6 separate regions of the Homo sapiens genome follow, and all the other regions are linked to region 4. Evidence: promoter capture Hi-C in 16 types of primary human blood cells and fetal thymus (Javierre and others, 2016). All regions are on one chromosome and are shown on one strand. Each heading gives the region's core, a stretch centred on a gene start or on the middle of the fragment in contact. The rest is flanking DNA. Distances are from core to core; before and after follow the strand shown. Region 1 overlaps NADK2 (NAD kinase 2, mitochondrial). Region 2 overlaps NADK2 (NAD kinase 2, mitochondrial). Region 3 overlaps LMBRD2 (LMBR1 domain containing 2). Region 4 holds the start of NUP155 (nucleoporin 155). Region 5 overlaps RICTOR (RPTOR independent companion of MTOR complex 2). Region 6 overlaps SKP2 (S-phase kinase associated protein 2).

Region 1 (2,974 bases), core at 18-2,517, 1.2 Mb before region 4:
AAGTCCAAGATACTGAGCTAGATATAGCTTGTGCTTTGCTCAGCAAAAAATATTATACAAAAAGGAAAGCATTCTTAAATTAAAATAATATTGTGTTCAGATGGCTGGATTAGATAAAAATCCCTCTCCACAAATTTTATAATGGAGGTTTTTTAAAACAATAAAAGGAAAAAAGGATTAAGAAACAATAAATAAAAGTGTTGATTACACCTAAAAATTTAAATAACATCTCTGGTAAAAGGAAAAAAACAATCAGGTTTAATTGATTTCAAAACTGATAATCAATGTATCGAAAGTCAATGGGACAGATTCTGCTAGGTAAGTATACAAAAATATACTTCCACTTGGTAGCTATAAATTAGCCATTTCTTGTCAAACTTCTGAAATGACTAGAAACTAGAATTACTGGTAATGAAATGATTCTTGAAAAGAAGATCTAATACAACTTCACAAACATCTGTGGGAAAAGCTTTCCCCAACTATAAAATCTAGTCCAAGTCAGGAAATAAAAAGTAGTCCAACTTAGCTCTCTCAAATATAATTGGCCAACCTCATGCTCCTTCCTCCACCTTCCTCTTTTCCTGATGGTCTGACCACTGAACACATTAAGTAAAAGAAACTTTTAAAAATCCCATCCCCACTGCTTAAGAAATACTTTTATGTGAGACAGATACCAGGAATCTCAGCATGGTTGGATTAAATCCAGCTCTCAATCATTACTAGATGGGAGATAAAGATAAAAAATATAAAATCTGAAAATTCAAACAATTTTAGCCAAAGTTTTAATTACCTTTCCACTAAACTGATAAGGACATGTAACGAGGTTAAGAAAGTAGAGACATGCCTGCTATCTCACTGAAGGAGAAAAAAAATTTCTATATGCAGTTATATTATAGGCCAACCAATATTTGTCAGGGTTTCTCTCCACAATTCCAACTGGACTAGGAGAAGGTAAATTAGACCTATTTGTGACTCAGCTAATACATTACTTTTAATGGCTACTGTTATATCTATGGAGTAATCCAAACATTATCTGATTTGTTCTGGTTTTTTGTGTGTTTGTTTGTTTTGAGACACAGTCTCACTCTGTTACCCAGGCTGGAGTGCAGTGGCATGATCTCGGCTCACTGGAACCTCTACCTCCTGGGCTCAAGTGATCCTCTCAACTCAGCCCCGCAAGTAGCTGGGACTACAGGTGCTTGCCACCATGCCCAGCTAACTTCTGTATTTTTTGTAGAAACAAGGTTTCACCATGTTGCCCAGGCTGGTCTCAAACTCCTGAGCTCAAGTGATCCACCCGCATCGGCCTCCCAAAGTACTGGGATTACAGGCGTGAGATACCGTGCCCTGCCTGATTTGTTCTGTTTTTTAACAGCATTATTAATGGCACATACTTATTAAGATACTTACATAAGAACAACCGTAAGAAATTCCTACCTGAACTCACCACGATAGAACTTCTGTAAGGCTTCTGGAAAGGAATGTGTATATCGAACGGGCAGGCATAAATGACCCTCAGACCTATATTTTAACAGGAATTTTTTGGTGATATAAAGAGGAAAAGAAAAAAGGTGAAGCAAAAAAATTTAATCAAAAGGTATCACTAAGCTATAAAAATAAGAAATGAAATTCTAAAAATGTCTACCCTATATTCCATTTTTTGCCACAAAATTGTGTTCTTTAAATAAAAACAAAAAAGACCAGATAGAATTAGTAGTCTACATCCAGCTTTAATGCCATAATACATAATAATATGTGAGTTTCTACGTTACAATGAAACTAAAAATAGCAGCAAATCTGCTACTAATTACCCTGTAAAGTTATTTAATGGTACAGTGTTGTTCAAATCATTATTTAACTACTAACCTTCCAATTTTTATTCTAACCTTTAAATTATTTAACTATTAACTTTGGGCAAGTCACTTTAGCATCAGCTTCCTCATCTCCAAAATCAGGATAAACCAGCAATCTCAAAAGGAATCAAAATATTTATGTGAAATGTTTTGAACCATAATCCTTTCTGAAATGTCATTTAAGATATCCTAAGTCACTAAAAAAGAACTGAGAAAGCTTAATCCAATGTAATCCTTCATTTATTCAAAAATACATAAATAATGAAACTCCTTTAAGGAGTTCATAGCTTGATGTGGAAGACAAATTAAAACAAACCATTGCAAATTATAAGGTGGTAAGATTGCCTATTGGTTGGTGTAGATGAGAGTATGTGGCACCTAAAGATGTCCAGAAGGCTCAGTCATCATCATTTAATGATACTCCAATCTTGAAGAAAAGGCTGAGGGTAGGCTTAGCAAAACAAACTCCTGATAATAAATGTAAATCAACTTGTAAGCGTGAAGGGCACAGAAAAGTGTTTTTACAAAGTTGTGAATAGTCAACTTCTTTATCTAAGCAGGTCAACACTGAGGTTAAGAAAGCGTAAGGCCTAGGTTTTTAAATTTTTATATTCATTGTAATAGTTCACACAATGTTAAGTATATAAAAGGTATCAACAGTCATTTGATAGAATAATACCTGCTGAGGTCAACTGCAAGTCTAAAACCCTTGCAGAGAGAAGACTTTCTCATGAGGTTACAGTCAGATATCAGCTAGGGCGGCAGGCATCTGAAGGCTTGACTTGGACTAGCACGACCACTTCCAGGGTTGCTCACTCACATGGCTGGCAAATTGGTGCTGGCCATTGGCAGGAGGCCTCAATCACCCTCTACGTGAGCCTCTCCACAGAGCTGCTTGTGAGTATCCTCACATCATGGTGGCTGTCCTACCCCACAATGAACAATCCTAAAGACCAATACAGATGCTGCAATACCATTTATGACCTGGCCTTGGAACCTACACATTCTCACATCATATTCTACTGGTCACACAGGCCATCCTTGATTGAATATTGGGGGGCAGGGAGGAGTACATTAAAGGGTACCTAAATACTAGGAAGCTACCTTGGAGGCTGACTACC
Region 2 (2,904 bases), core at 349-2,848, 1.1 Mb before region 4:
CTACTTTTTTTAGTGGAAGTATGGGGGTGGAGAGGACGATAAAGGAGATGCAATTCTTGCCCTCAAAGAGTTTACAGTTTAGAAAAGAAAATAATCACAGATAAGTATTATGAAGTGAAGAATGCCTAACACAATCTTGGTAGCCAGAGAAAGGCAGAGGCACAGCAAGGTTACCAAGGATGGCATCCTGAGAGAGTAATGTCTGAGCTTAACCTCAAAAAAAAAAAAAAAAAAAACAGGAATTGGATAGAGGAAGAAGAGCATTCAAATCAAAGGAGGCTACAAAAGTAGACACATAGACACTGAGAGATGCAAATTCAACCACCCTGAAATACCATCTTTCACCCACCAGGTTGGCAAAGACCCAACAATTTAATGAACTATGTATGGAAAAATAAGTCCCCTTATACAGGGCTGGTGAAAGTAAAAATCTGTATAATCTCTAAGGGAAGCAATTTGGCCAAATCTGTTAAAACTTTATATGCACAAGGCTTTTGACTCAACAATTTCAACTTTAGGTATTTGTCTTAGAGCTTGATTTACATGCATATAAACACAAATGTTATTCATTTCAGAATGTGTTTAATAGCAGAAGATAAATTAGGACACAAAATAAAGTAACATACATACTATTTTTAAAAAGAATGGGAATGTTCTTTATGACAATCTCCACAAATGCTGTTAGGCTAAAAAAAAAGGCACATAATAGCTTAAATAGTATATTATCATTGAATAAAAAGAGATGAGGCAAAGAAAAAGAATATTTCACTGTGCTGATTTGTAGGTATAGGTTGCTTCTGGAAGAAAACACAAGAAATTGATAACAGTTACTTCCAGGGACAAAACTGAATGACAAATGACAAGTAACAGAAAGACTTCTTTGTATAATATTTTGTATCTTTTATATTTTGAATCATTTTATGTGCTACTGATCCATAAATTAAACTAAATCAGTACAACATCTAATGGAAATTAACACAGTTTGAAATTGCTAGAATATGAAATTTAAGACAAGAAGTGATCAGAAGTGAAGCTCAAGAGATAGCCAGTTCATGAAGGGACTTATCTGCCATTCTAAAGATCATGAACTTGAGCCCACAACTGTGTTTCTCAGTTTAACTGGGGACCACATGCCAACCAGGGATAAAACACATCCCTGGAATTCAGCCGGAGTCATTAATTTCAGGTGTGTGCTTCATAAAACCAAAGTCTGGGAATTCTCCACAAACTGAGTCAGAGTCTTGCGGGGCTAAGGTTCAGGTGTCTGCATTTTAACAAGTACTCTTGGTGACTAAAGGGTACAGGGAGCTTCTGTGGAGTTCCAAGCAAAAGAGAGAAAGGGCCAGATGTTCACTTTAGATAGACACTCTGGTAACTGTGTCTAGAAGATTTGAGAGGAGCAAGGATTCAGTTAGAAAGCTCTGGCAGTACTCCAAATCATGCTCTTTAATTTGATTAACAATCATATTGTATGTAATATACTTATTGCATACAATGTAGCAAAAGTATACCACCTGACAAAAGTATACCATGGTACGCTTATTGCATACCCTGTGGCAAAAGTATTATCTGCCCAAGTGCTACAACCTAAGCCACAAAATCTTCAGAAAACAAAAGGGAAATCCAAGGTGCTACACCTTCCAAGTCATCTAGTTTAATCCAATAACACGGCAGACTGTTAAATGAAATTATTCTATCCCATTATGAATTTTAAAAAACAAAACTAAAAATAGGAACCAGTAAAAGGGTTGCCGAGTTGTGAGACCTGGAATGATGGAGAGGAGGGCAGAAACTGCTGACTTCTTATTTGTTCTACATTAAAATTTTTTTTCCTTATTCAGTTCCCCATCCCTGGTGACAGGTGAAAAAGAGCTTTAAATAAAACCTTTTTTTGACCAATGAGGTATGTTTCTGGTGTCAAAATCCTTTCCAAGTCAGTTTTGTTTCATCTAGAGTTCTAATTTGTGTCAAGGACCCTGTTAATAGCAATTGCACATTTGCCAACAGCTACATCTCTTAATGATGCAAGTAAATTGTAATAATAGTTTTACTGGCCTTTGAAAGGTCATGAGACAGTAGAGGTAAAATGTTTGACCAGAAATCTGATATCACAAAATAAGTCACTGGTCAATCAATGGGGAAAAAGACAAGATTTTAAAATAAAGCAATGTAACCAATATGAAACGGTAAATAAAAGTCAAAACTTTGACTAGCTTGAAGGTTGTAAACCTATTCTGTGCATGCCTTATCAACTAAAAAATATTTCCTGTAATTGTTTACATTTCTACAAAGTTAGAAAATCATCAGCCTTCAGGGTATAAAATTATACTGGCACTCTATCCTTCATCTTCCATTTGCATTTTAACAAATAGCCTAAAACAGACCTGTTTTACATCAAAAAACCACCACCACGACAACAAAAGAGAATGCTTTGACAAAAAACCAAGTTACCATGACACTATAGACACAGCAGCCATGGTGAGACTCAAGCACTTGGCCACTTTCTTTTATATCCATCCAATTCACATGATTCACATAACTTAGTATTTTCTACCCCAGCAATATAACAAATAATACTTATCATCTTATCACTCCTATTACAGAATCCCATTTTAGGACAGCTTCACACAGCCCAGTATTCTTTGGCCTGTTAATAATCTCTCATCTGGTCTACAACTAATGCTATTGCATTCTGAGTATGGGCCTTTATATAAACTATAACACAAATTCAAATCAGTAAGGAACTTATCCAATAAAACTGTAATGACAACACCACCAACAAAAACTATTCCACTGCCTGGCAATTACAAAACTGTGTATTCTACAGCCCACGAGTTTTACTTCAAAGCTGGCTTATCCCAAACAGCATTACCTAGCAATAGACAAATATTTACCTATTAGAGA
Region 3 (3,142 bases), core at 426-2,925, 1.2 Mb before region 4:
GGCATGAACAGCCTGGGTGCCATAAATGACATGATTGATGGTGGCAGGAGGCAGATAGGCTCCTGGGCAGAAGTGGGCAGGTCCCCGGTGAAGCCCCACCTTCAAGCCAGGGACAGCCTGAAGCATGGAGGCCAGGCCATCAGCTCTGTGGACCAGAGTGAGAACTTAGGGTGCTTTATCCAGGTCTGCCTATGGCCCAATCAGTGCACACTTTCTCCTCTCTGAAGCCCATAAAAACCCCAGACTCAGCCCCACTTAGGTAGATGACAGGACAACCTGACTACAGATAGGAGCTATCTACTTCAGGTCTCCTCTCTACTGGGGGCTGCACAGACGATTGGGATAACCTGCCTGCAGATAGGAGCTACCCACTCTGGGGCTCCTCTCCACTGAGAGCTATACTTGTCAGGACAACCTGCCTGCAGAAAGGAGCTATCCACTTTGGGTCTCCTGAGAGTTGTACTATCACTCAATAAAGCACCTCTTCACCTTGCTCACCCTCCAGTTGTCTGCATACCTCATTCTTCCTGGATGTAGGACAAGAACTCAGGACCTGCTGAATGGCAGAACTGAAGGAGCTGAAACACAAACAGGGCTGAAACATGGCCCTGCCACTTGCCATGTTGCAGGTGACGAGAAGAGAAGAGCTGTGGCCCTTCCAGGAGCCCAGATCTAGGGGCTCCCCAAGCTAGGGCTGTGACACCCTCTTTGGAGCTCTGAGGTTTCTGGCATCTCCAAGCTTCTGGGTACCACCACATTCCTCTCATCCAGATGCAGGTGCCCACAGCAGAAGCTGCTTGCAGTGCATCTGACCCAGCCACAGGCTTTCACAGAGCCGACACCTGTGCCGATGCCTGGAGCTGCCCACCCTGCCACAGCAGCCAGCGTGTCTGGCTGTGCTCAGTGGCTGGATCCCATGCTCACTCACTCACACACCCCTCACCACTCCATGCCTGGCTCGCCCTTGGGAGTCATGAGATCAGAGCCAGGAGCATGAGCTAAGTGCAACCTGCCAGGCTGAGTAAGCGGAATAAGCCCAGCGGGCCTGAGTAAAATTCAGGCAAAGGTGCTACTGGCCATAGAGGTTTCCAGCTGGCAAAACAACACCCCTAAGGATCCTGTGACAGAAGTATTGGCTTTAACAAGCATGACTCTTCCATCTTTGGAGGGGAAAGAAAAAAAGATGGGTAGGTATGTAGATTTGTTGGTGAGAAGCTGAAAGAGCTGCCGTCTGATGACTCCTGTTTTAACTGCTGGATGGAAAGTAGTCATCTGCTAAGAGGCTAAGAGTAAAGATGATTTTGTTGTTGTTGTTAGGGAGCACAAGAGAGAAAGCCATAAAGAGGACGGAAGTTTGAAGTGAATGGAAATATTTCTTGTAGAAAATGGAAAGAAAGCAAACTAAAAAAAACAAAGAAGGAAAGTCTGGCAATGTTGAGAGCCCAGTTGAATTTAATAGACATGACTTTACAAAAGCACTACTCTGCTATGTAATTTTTCTCTTGCAATGTTCAGTGCCTCCAGTTTTAGAGTGCAGTTGTTTGCAGATCTAAGAGATGCTTAGTAGACAGTGGATAACTATGAGTTTGGAGCACAGCAGAAAGATAAAAATAATGGGTAGAAAGATTCAGAATGCATATGACACATAAATAAATTCCAAACTATATTGATTGAAAAACATTTTATTCCTTTAGCCAAAATTTTAAAAATTTTATCATTTACTGTAACTTACCATGTTAAAAATTGTGACGTCCAATACACTACCCTCCAGAAAATTGGCATGATTCCATCAGGAATGTAACTCCATGGCTTGAAACAAGGATGCTGGCTGTTGAATAAAAAGTTAAAGCCAACTAATCATAAATGACTACTTAAATGAATTATACAATTAATTTGCATGTGGCCAAGTTAATTTACATTCAGATTTTAAATTACTGACTCTAATAATCAATAACCCATAAAATTTCAAAGAAATTTTAAAATTCAAAGCTGACTGCCAAACTAAAAAAACACACAAAAGCAACAAAATAGATTGTTCTGAAAATGTCATTTAAGTTTTCAACTTTCAGTGTATTTTTAGTCATTGGGTAAAAAGAAAACTTAATGTTCAACTAATAGACTAAAAGTGCAACAATCATTAAAAGCAAATGTATTATGAAATAAAATTTCTAATGATTACCTTTAAAATACACAATCCATTTATAGGTTGGGTTTTTTTTTTTTCAGGTTATAGGGGTTGGGAGGGGAAAACATTAGGTAATTAATTCCTGAAAATTGTAATGCTAATTAAATCACTCACTATAACATAGCTTCTATGGAGATGCATGCTAGCAATTATACATAATTCTGTTTAAATTTTTGAAGACATGATGAGTCTCTGATCATAAATTCTGCCATGGAGCCATATTCCTAAGCTAGAAGGATATCCCAAGAACTTGCAACAATCTGTAGCTGCTGCTGATCTTTATCCAGTTTTTTTAATAGTGCTTCAAATGGAAGTAACACCTGCATTTTAAATTTACCTTTTCTGAAGTTAGATTTTTTAAAAATATGCATAAAGAAGCATGCAAATACTACTGAAAGCATTCATAAAGGCTATAGTCAACATATATAAGCTTTTTACTTAAAAGTTCGATATGAATTCAATATAATCTTTGGACAATTTGAACTTTATTAATTTTTTATGTAAATCTATAATGCTTTTGAAGGATGTGCAATATGAAAGGAATACCATAAGTTCAGAAATACTTGTCTTTATTATAACCTTGTAAATTAGGCAAAAGTGAAAATACATCCCACGTTTTTAAATCTGAGATAGGCTGAGAGGAAAAACAGGTTTTAGAAATTACATACTTGGTAAAGAAGAACCAGGACTAAAAAATCAGGACTTCTTCAAGTTTCTCACTACCGTCTACTGAAGGGCTTTGTGGACCAATAAATATTAAAAATTAGATTTAATTAGAATATGATGTAATGAAAAGTCTACTAGGAAAGAATAGAGGTGGGGAGAATTAGTAGAGAATGAGGATAACTTACATAAATATAAAGTCTGGATGGTAAAAACTTTCAATTTTTAAACAATGTGTCCCCTACAATGTTTATATATTTTTTTTAAAAAAGGAAATACCTTGGAACAGGGTTA
Region 4 (3,185 bases), core at 30-2,529:
TTCTCCAAATTCCATCTCACAAAGGGGTCACTTTTTCTAGCAACTGATGTAATTCCATAAGCCGTGGGGAGCTGGTTATAACTTAAAACTGTTAAACAAATTACTTTCCAGTCACCTATATTGTCAACACATATTCTGCCTTACTCTCCCTGTACATAAGCACTGTGATTTCCCTGTTCTCTTTCTTTATTCCACTGGTAGTTCTTTTAAGATCCTCCAGCATTTCATAACACACATCTCTACACATAATAAAGCGTTTCTTGGCCGGGTGCAGTGGCTTGCGCCTGTAATCCCAGCACTTTGGGAGGCCGAGGCGGGCGGATCACTTGAGGTCAGAGTTCGTGACCAGCCAGGCCAATATGGTGAAACCCCGTCTCTACTTAAAAAACACAAAAATTAGCCGGGCTTGGTGGCAGGCGCCTGTAATCTCAGCTACTTGGGAGTCTGAGGCAGAAGAATCGCTTGAACCCAGGAGGCGGAGGTTGCAATGAGCCGAGATCGCGCCATTGCACTTCAGCCTGGGCGAAGAGGGAACCGCTCCGTCTCAATAAATAAACAAATAAATATAAAGCAAAGCGTATCTTTAAGATAACATGCTAAATTTCCAAATTAACTTCGTTTGCTCTTACGATCTACTCAAACACTAACAGGAGAAATGAACAAATTTGGGACTTGGATCTGGAGATGCTTCTCATATGGCCTTAGCCATAAGCACTTGAGAGCGGCGAGAAGCTCATTAAGGTTGAGGTCTTTGCCTCTTTCTGCTTCAACTGGGAGCTTGCTCTTCACTCTTGCCCTCTCAAGTATCTACAATGAAGAAAGTGAGGAAAGGAAAAAACCTGAAAAGAAGCTGCTTGCTGTTCTCCAAAAATGCAGCCAACAGTGCCATAAATCTCAGCATATCCTCGCCGGGACCAACGCTGGGGATAAGTAGCAAATTAGGAAGTCAGGCGAGAGTCCTTTAGGTTGAGAAAGCAGGGTCACTATCACTCACTTGGGGCAGACACCATAAGCAGCTCGGAAAGGTCCGGGTACATGCGGTCCTCTTGCAACTGACGGTCGATGAGCCGTCCAGCATTTTCCAGAGCTTCCTGCAGGGCTGCGGCAGATGTAGAGGCCGGCATCGCCGCGCCCAACAAAGAAGACGGCATCTCGGAAATCGTAGACACCAGGGTCCAGAAAAAGTCAAAAACCAAGGAGAAACAAGAAAAGATCCAAGAAGTTAGCTTAGATCCGCCGCCTAGGGCGCGCGCGCCAAACGAGCGCCTTGGCGCCTCGACATGACGCACTTCCGCTTCATCCGGTGGGGAACTGGAAGACGCCGTTCTGGCCTGGGAAGAGGAAGCTGTTGGGAGGGGGCTAGAGGTTGTGGGTGGAGCTAGGAGGCTGCTGATGCTTTCGAGGGGGTTGAGGGTTTTGGGGTGTGGCAGGGTAAAATTAGGGTAGGTTATTTAGGGAAGGGAGGGAGGGAAAGGAAGGGAAGGATAAAGGGGAGGGAACAGGGAAGGAGAGGGGCGGGATGGGGTTGGATAGGGTGAGGAGGAAGGAGGGAGGAGGGATACGGTAGGTGGGAGCTAGGTCGTGTGTCTGGCCTAGGAGGTTGGTCAGGTTCCGTTGGTTTAAGCGCGTGCTCGACCTGAGTCTTGGAACTTCCCGCGTCGGTATCCGCTAACTGCAGCTATATGAGTTCGCGCATGAGCGCGCAGTTTGGTTCTCCAAGTAACTGCTTTTGTGAGAGTAGTTAAGAATTGGTAGGTCGCTGTCACAGAGAGGGATATAAACCAGTATCTCACTATATTCTTCGCGGGCTTCAGTGTAAATTAGAATTCATCAGGCTTTTCCATTTGCGTGTCGCTGTCTTTTGACTTTGTTGCCCCTTAGTATAAAATACGTGTTTAAGAAGAAGCTGAGTGCAGGTGGACCGCTGCCGTGCTTTTTATCGTGGCAGAGATAGCAGACAGTTCTAATTCATCTTTCCATTCCCAGCGCTAGTATAGGAACTCGTATGAGATAGGAACCCAAGAGTTCATACAATCCTAAGAAACTGAATACTTGCCTTGTGCCTGGTGCTGGGACTATCAAACTAACACAGTGTTTCCTGTCCTTAAGGTGCTTCAAGCAGAGACAAAGGGCTTCATTATAATTTTTCTATTTGGATAGGTATAAACTATAGCAGGATAGGAGAAAGCAGAGAGGTAAAAGAGGCTTCATTTACTACAGAAGGCAACCTGAGTGGGTAAATCAAAGCACTTTTTAGAAAGCTGCTCTTATTTAGAATCTCACCTAAGAAAGCTTCCAGTTATGTTCTTCAGAATTTCACAAATCAATAACTGAATTACTCTAAATTGGTCTTTTGCTATTTGAATTACATTTTTACTCCCTCAAAGACTTGACTACATTTCTGAAAATTGAAAGTTCTTTGATGTTACCAATCTACACTTAAAATTTGACATAGCCAATATACCAAGAAAAACTGGATTTTTTATCATTGGTATATAGATAGGCAGTTGGGTCTCTAGCTGTGAGTTTACTTTATTTGGTAGACCATAGATTGAAAAGTGGTGGTCTGGCACCGAGTTTGTTTTTAATTTGAGACAAAATACACAAAGTTTTCAACTCCATAAATTGGAAGATTCAACAACGTTGCTGTGATATTCCTGCATAGAAGTAAAGCTCCCCAAAGTGTAATCTAACTAACTTAATTCATTGGCATATTGCCTATGCTTTCCCACTACAACTGCTAAACCGAGTAATTTCTACAAAAGACTGCAAAGCCTTAAATACGGACTCTGGCACTTTACAGGAAAAGTTTGCTGACCTCTTCCCTAGAACAGATAATTATGAATTTTTTTGGTCTTAGGACCCCCTTGATACCCTTAAAAATTATTCAGGATTCCAGAGAGTTTTTGTTTCATGTTGGTTACATCTATTAATATTTGTGAATAACTCAAACTGAAAATTAAAATGTTTAACATTGTATTTAAAAGAGTAACAAGGCCGAGCACAGTGGCTCACACCTGTAATCCCAGCACCCAGCACTTTGGGAGGCCAAGGCAGGTGGATCACAAGTTCAGGAGTTGGAGACCAGCCTGGCCAATATGGTGAAACCCCGTCTATACTAAAATACAAAAATTAGCTGGGCGTGGTGGCGTGCGCCTGTAGTCTCAACTGTTCAGGAGGCTGAG
Region 5 (2,939 bases), core at 130-2,629, 1.6 Mb after region 4:
AGCTGGCTGGGCACGGTGGCTCATGCCTGTAATCCCAGCACTTTGGGAGGCTGAGACAGGAGATCACCTGAGGTCAGGAGTTTGAGACCAACCTGGCTAACCTGGCGAAACTCTGTTTCTACTAAAAATACAAAAATTAGCTAGGTGTGGTGGTACACACCTGTAATCCCAGCTACTTGGGAGGCTGAGGCAGGAGGATTGCTTGAACCCGGGAGGCAGAGGTTGCAGTGAGCCGAGATTGCACCACTGCACTCCAGCCTGGGTGACAGAGCAAGACTCCGTCTCAAAAAAGAAATACAAAATACAAAATAAAAAAGCCCTGCAGGAGACCCTGAGGTGCATTTCTTTTAAGAACCACTGCTTTAAATAATAAGAAAAAAATTAAACCAAGAAAATATGACTTGTTACATGTAAGCCCACTTTCCTCAAACTTTTTGGTCTCAGGACTTACTTTCTTAAAAATTACTGAAGACCCAAAAAAGCTTATTTTTGTGTGGGTTACAGCCACCATTAACTACTATATTAGAAATTAAAATTGAGAGAATTTCCTAACATGCATTAATTTATTTTAAAAATAAATCCATTACATGTTAACATGTATTTTAATAAAAATAACTGTATTTTCCAAAAGTAAAAAAGTGAGAAGAGTGGCATTATTTTACATTTTTTGCAGATCTCTTCAAAAGTCTGGCTTAATAGAAGATAGCTGGATTCTCATACTTGCTTCTACATTCAATCTGTTGCCATATGTTGTTTTGGCTGAAGTATTAAAGAAAATCTAGCCTCACACAGGTATGCAATGCAGTTTAGAACTACTGATGTAAGTTAACTAGCCTAACTTTTGAAGTATTTCAAGTATCTTTTCTCGACTTAAAAAACAGAATAAACAAATAATACTCATGCACATAGTTTACTCACGTTAAAAGCCCAGTCTCATGACATTTAGTTGAAACTGAACTACTCAAATTAATGACTAATCTTAGAACTTCTTTGCGAAGGAGTATACGGCACATTGGTGTATCATCTGGAATTGTTTTAACACCTGAAAAGATTTCAGGGAGAAGTTAAATATTATCTATGTCACAATAAAATGATTAAAACTCATGAAATTTATTTTTAAACTTCACCTAAAGACCTAGAGATCAATTACACATGATCTACCAATCATTTTGGGAGCAAAACTCTAATAAAAGCAGATAGCTAAGAGGCTCTATGTCAGTGGGTGATATAGGTGCAATAATTAACAGTGTTAAATTGCTTCACTAAAATGGACGTATTACTGTTTTGAGACAACTTTAATTTACAGTATTTACGAAAAACAAAACAAAACCAACTAATCAGAACAGTTTTACTAATAATGATTGGATTTGAATCTGAAGACTCACCTAGTAACAATTCTGTGCTTTTGGTGCTGCTAGCTGAGCCTTCTTGAGACACCCCATCACTGCATCCAGAAATCCCCGAAAACTTAGAGGGAACCACTTCTAAAGGATTATGGATAGTCTGCTCACACCAATCAGAATATGGAATATCTTGAAAGTCTGAAGAAAAAAATAATTATTTCAATTAAAGCACCATAACGGCTTAATTCCTGTGCTTACATTGCATGCTAAAAAGAAATAATATAAAATAACATCTTCTCTAATTGTATGCAATATACCAAACACTTCCAAAACTTTTTTCCTCATAGAAAATGAAAATAACTACAGCATGCAAAGGGCCTGGACAGGGCTGTTCACAGTGGAAAAGACCTAATCCAGGGATCTGTCAGACTCAGGCCCCACTGTGACCTGGAACCGTGAGAGGATCAGCATCTCAGCATAACATAATTTGGCATATCAGTGTGCTGCAGCTCACCAGCTGGGAAACTCTGAATTAGAATACCAAAAAGAAATTTGGAAAAGTAAACCAGAGAACTTTAGTCATCACTAGGTTTTTCTGAAGGTGGGACGTGATCACTTACCTGAATGACTACATATTGCACTCAGTTGGTTGCTGGGCTGGAAACCCAGAATTTCAATACAGACACAATAAAGGCAGTTATCATCTGTATGTTCCTGTAGTCCAGTGTCTTCTGTACTTTCTAAAAACAGAGAGGCATCTGAATGGATTGAATTCATTATTTCCGTAAGACTCATCTGCTGTCGTAGCAAGTGAAAAGAATTTTTTACAAGACCTCCAGTTCCAGATGGAAGACCTGTGCATAAGTAAATATAAAACATAATCCAATAAAGATAATACTTTTCAAGGTACCTTAAATTATGTGAAATTTTAAAGAAAGCTTAAGCACATTTTATGACTCAAAATCTAACTGGAAAGAAAAAAAGAATAATTTGCTTTAAGTTATAAAAATAAGGAAAGCCAGCAGATGTTTATTATTTTAATATATAGTGTTTTAAATACAAAATGGAAAATTGAGATTATATAATACATCATTTCAATTATCGTCAATATTTGCCTAAAGATATGTAATAATTCTAAGTATAAAGAGGCATTTGTTTAAAAAGTCATTAAGAATATAAAGCTATAAAACCTGTGGCTTATATTTACATATTAAAATATAACAGTTCAAAACAAAGACCGTGTATTTTATAAGTACATTTCTTTCTCCTTACTCTAAACAAACAGCTATTTCCTGGATCTATGAGGATTAGTGTTATACATTGTTCATGTGCTACTTTTAAAAAACAGAAACAACTAATTTGGTTTCTATTTCCTTGAAAGGTTGAGTACTTCACTGAAAACACTGTTAAGTCCCTCACACATACACAAAAATGTGGTTTAATTTTAAGCTGACTTTAACAATTGTTTTGGTATAATTTTAAAGTTGATCCAAAAGTGAGTCTTCCTAAATTTTTAGTGTTATCCTACTAGAAAGAACTAAGAGTTTTCTTTTTAATATAAAGAGGCATCTCACAAGTACAATGCACAATGCATTA
Region 6 (3,207 bases), core at 271-2,770, 1.2 Mb before region 4:
CTTCTGCCCCATCTGCTGGGACAGCAGCCCATATCAGGCTGTGGTACCCCCACCCGGGGCCCCTAGGATTAGTGTCATTCTGTGGTCAGCTGAGTAAGAGCACTGGGTACTTGGCTGCTAGCTGAGTATGTGTGTTTTCTAGGACCTTGCTCCTTCCATTTGGTGGTGAACCCATTGATAGCATCTTTGTTTTATTTTCTCTCTCCTCCTCCACTCACTCCCTAGCCCTGATTGATTTCTGTTTCCATAGCAAGTCCGGGTTTAATTCTCACCTTTTCAAAATTTGTACTTACAACAGAGGAGAGCATAGAATATTAGAACCCACTAGGATGGAAAGGGCATGATTTGAAATCAGACCTGAGTTTAAATTCCCCCTCTGCCACTTACTGATTGTGTGACCTTGTCTCTTTTATCATAGTTGCATGTTTTCTTGAAGCCCCAGCCCCCATCTCCCAGAGACTACAGCTATACTGATAGAGGACATTCCCTTCTGCTCTGGGTTTTTGTCTTCAGCCTCATCCCCTCCATATGCCAACAGTGCTGTGCACATAGTCGTTAATTGGTTAATAAGGGTTAGCCATTCACACTAATAAAGAATTAGCACATTCACCATTTGAATGAAGAGGGCTAATAAATACATTTGGCAAATATTTATAGAGTCCTGTTATGTGCCAGGCATTGTTAGGTAATGGATGTGCAAATCTGGGCATGGGGCCTGTGGTGGTATCCTGGGTGGGAATGCTTCTTTGAGCAGGTGCCATTTAAGCTGAAATCTGGAGGAGTTGGGAAGGCAAAGATGGAAGTTGCAACACAAAGTCCTCCAGACTTTGGAGTCTCACATGCAGTCTTCATTGGTTAGGTCTACTGACCTCTGCATTCATCACTATGCCAGATTTTCCTCTAGCACTTTAATTACCTGGCTGCTACTGCTCTTTTAATTGGTCCTGATTTCTTATGTCTTCCTAATAGAAAGCACCAAGTTTGTTAATTTATTTCTCCTGCCCTGTACTTCATAGCAAGCTTTTCTAATTTCCTTTCCCCAGCCATAATTTCTGTTGGTGCCCTATCTATAGCCCCTTGAAGCCCCCCATTCCCTTACATGCCAAAGCTTTTGCCTACGTGTAGATGAGATTCCATGCCTGAGGGCTTTCTCTGGGCAGGAATACTGGGGAGTCCCCAAATAGTGACCAACAGCAATTGATGGATTAATACCCCAGCACTCGTGCCCTTGGTTGAGACAGCTCTGGGGTAGTTTCTAGATGGTTTACTGGAGTCCCCAGAAGATTTGAACCCCAATTGCCCATAGGGATAACCTGCCTATTAGCCTACTCCAGGTTGGCTTTCTTCCCTTCCACCTCTGTCTTCTCCACTCTTTCTAGTGCTTCCTGGCATCACTTCCCAAATAAACTACTTGAAGTCAGAGCTTCAGAATCTGCTTCTGGGGGACCCAAACTTAAATAAAGGGCAGATACGGGGTTTTGGTAAGTCATACCATGCAGACCTTGTCCAGTGTCTGCCCATGGGTGAAAATTCAGAGCAGCACTGAAAAGGTCATTGCATGAAGAAAATACCCAGACTTAACTGGGAAAGGAGAGGAATATAGAAAAGAAAGTTTTACTCCCTGCTGCATTATTTAATCTTTTCTTGTACCTCATTTACTCTTCACTGAACAATTTTGCAAGATAAATCTGTCAATTTCCTTTCCTGCAGGTAAAGAAACTGAGGCCAGAAAGATTAAGTAACTTGCCCAAGTTCACAGACTTGGGGCAACACAGCCAGGATTCTGATAGAAACTGTGCTGCTTTCTCAGTCCAGTAGTCCTCAAATGTGTTGAGGAGGCCCAGCGTATGGTGTCAGTATGATTTTTACAGATTATAGTAAAATCTCAACATATTAGATTCAAAATAGCTAAGTATGTTATTGAAGTATAGTTAAGCTTACTCTTCCATAGAGGCCACTTCCTCCAGGAAGGCTTCCTTAACCTCTGCACCATTCCCATGTGCTGCACAGCACCCTGAATCCTGCTGTAGCCCATCAGGATAGTTTATTGAAATTTCCTGTTTAATTGTTTGTCTGTATCTCTCAAACTCAGAGTAGAATAAGGGTCAGGATTGTACCTTACTTATTGTTGTGGCCCAAAACCTAGAACAGACCTCAGTGTATATAGTACATGGTTAATAAATACGTGAGTGGATGACTATACTTATAGCTAAATATAGTTATGCCCAATCAATTACTAGATTCTGATCTAGATATGTAAGAGGCAGCAGAGGTCTGAGAGAGTTGGATTAATGGGAGAAAAACTTGAGAAAAGCCTGTCATTCAACTTTGTTTTCAATTTGGGGAGCAGGGCAAGAGCCTGGTTTGAGAACCTTTGTCCCCTGCCCATGTTGACTTTGGAGGAACTTTGTGGCAGTGATGGAACAGCTGCCACGTCGAGGAGCCTCCTCACAACCTCCAGCTGCCTCCCCAGATCAGCAGGGGTGATCTGCCTTCAGCTTTCTACCCCTAGCTTTCAGGGCCTCAGTCAGTCCTTTAATTTTGTCCCCTGAAGGGCGTGAGGCTAGGGGAACAGGCATTCATTGAACAACTGTGTATCTCCTACTCATTCTTCAAGAGAGGCCACTTCCTCCAGAAAGGCTTCCCTAACCCCTGCGCCATTCCCATAAGCTGCACAGCACCCCGAATCCTACTGTAGCCCATCAGGATAGGTTATTGAAGTTTCCTGTTTGTCTATATCTCTCAAACTCTGAGCAGAATAAGGGTCAGGATTGTGCCTTATTTATCATTGTGTCCTTAAAACCTAGAATAGACCTCAGTGTATAGTACATATTTTATAAATATGGGAGTGGATGAATGTATCAATTTTATGCTAGTTCCTGAAAATACAAAAATTGTTAAAAAAAAAAAAAAAAGCGTTTTTGTTTCTCAAGAGCTCCTGGGGGTCTAGAGAGATGAGTAAGTAAATAATGAAATTATGGTACATAAGTGGCCTGTCCTTGTTGATGTCACGGGAGGCCTTCTGTGGGAACTGGGGCTTCCATTTGATTTTAAATGAATAGTAGTTGGAGGCAAGCACAGGATGTGCAAAAGCATTGAGATACGGCACAGAATGACTCATTCTAAGAATTACAGGTAGCTCCAAATGGCTGGAACACATTTCTAGATAACAAACCTAGGAAAACTAGTTGAGACCTGGCTGAAAGC

The links. Contacts are between HindIII fragments. The CHiCAGO score rates a contact against its expected background, and 5 or more counts as called.
Region 1: a contact is called between a fragment that was not itself captured here and the fragment with the promoter of NUP155 in region 4, in 1 of 17 cell types (monocytes). The highest score is 5.4, in monocytes.
Region 2: a contact is called between a fragment that was not itself captured here and the fragment with the promoter of NUP155 in region 4, in 6 of 17 cell types (total CD8 T cells, naive CD8 T cells, total CD4 T cells and 3 more). The highest score is 8.8, in total CD8 T cells.
Region 3: a fragment that was not itself captured here is called in contact with the fragment with the promoter of NUP155 in region 4 in 2 of 17 cell types (monocytes and total B cells); the score reaches 5.6 in monocytes.
Region 5: a fragment that was not itself captured here is called in contact with the fragment with the promoter of NUP155 in region 4 in 2 of 17 cell types (M2 macrophages and total CD4 T cells); the score reaches 6.0 in M2 macrophages.
Region 6: a fragment that was not itself captured here is called in contact with the fragment with the promoter of NUP155 in region 4 in 8 of 17 cell types (naive CD8 T cells, total B cells, naive B cells and 5 more); the score reaches 8.9 in naive CD8 T cells.

Annotation. Positions count from the first base shown.
Region 1 is chr5:36,218,159-36,221,132 of GRCh38, forward strand. NADK2 (NAD kinase 2, mitochondrial) reads right to left here. Exons shown (of 12, transcript NM_001085411.3): 5 at 1,438-1,521. It overlaps NADK2-AS1 (NADK2 antisense RNA 1), which reads left to right and starts at 2,897. Exons shown (of 2, transcript NR_170324.1): 1 at 2,897-2,974. The HindIII fragment of the contact is 1,601 bases long and covers 468-2,068 here.
Region 2 is chr5:36,236,652-36,239,555 of GRCh38, forward strand. All of the region lies in intron 1 of NADK2 (NAD kinase 2, mitochondrial), which reads right to left. Among named protein-coding and RNA genes, the nearest start is that of NADK2, 3.8 kb to the right of the region's middle. The HindIII fragment of the contact is 3,457 bases long and covers 1-2,904 here.
Region 3 is chr5:36,139,375-36,142,516 of GRCh38, forward strand. It overlaps LMBRD2 (LMBR1 domain containing 2), which reads right to left. Exons shown (of 18, transcript NM_001007527.2): 3 at 3,128-3,142; 4 at 1,733-1,828. Among named protein-coding and RNA genes, the nearest start is that of MIR580, 7.0 kb to the right of the region's middle. The HindIII fragment of the contact is 1,876 bases long and covers 738-2,613 here.
Region 4 is chr5:37,369,827-37,373,011 of GRCh38, forward strand. It overlaps NUP155 (nucleoporin 155), which reads right to left and starts at 1,280. Exons shown (of 35, transcript NM_153485.3): 1 at 995-1,280. The coding sequence starts at 1,151. RefSeq lists enhancers at 953-1,062, 1,183-1,272. The HindIII fragment of the contact is 10,669 bases long and covers 1-2,290 here.
Region 5 is chr5:38,943,528-38,946,466 of GRCh38, forward strand. RICTOR (RPTOR independent companion of MTOR complex 2) reads right to left here. Exons shown (of 38, transcript NM_152756.5): 34 at 1,964-2,197; 35 at 1,386-1,541; 36 at 919-1,042. It also overlaps a transcript of OSMR not described here. Among named protein-coding and RNA genes, the nearest start is that of OSMR, 99 kb to the left of the region's middle. The HindIII fragment of the contact is 1,799 bases long and covers 481-2,279 here.
Region 6 is chr5:36,158,394-36,161,600 of GRCh38, forward strand. The region is part of intron 2 of SKP2 (S-phase kinase associated protein 2); the gene reads left to right. Among named protein-coding and RNA genes, the nearest start is that of SKP2, 7.9 kb to the left of the region's middle. The HindIII fragment of the contact is 828 bases long and covers 1,107-1,934 here.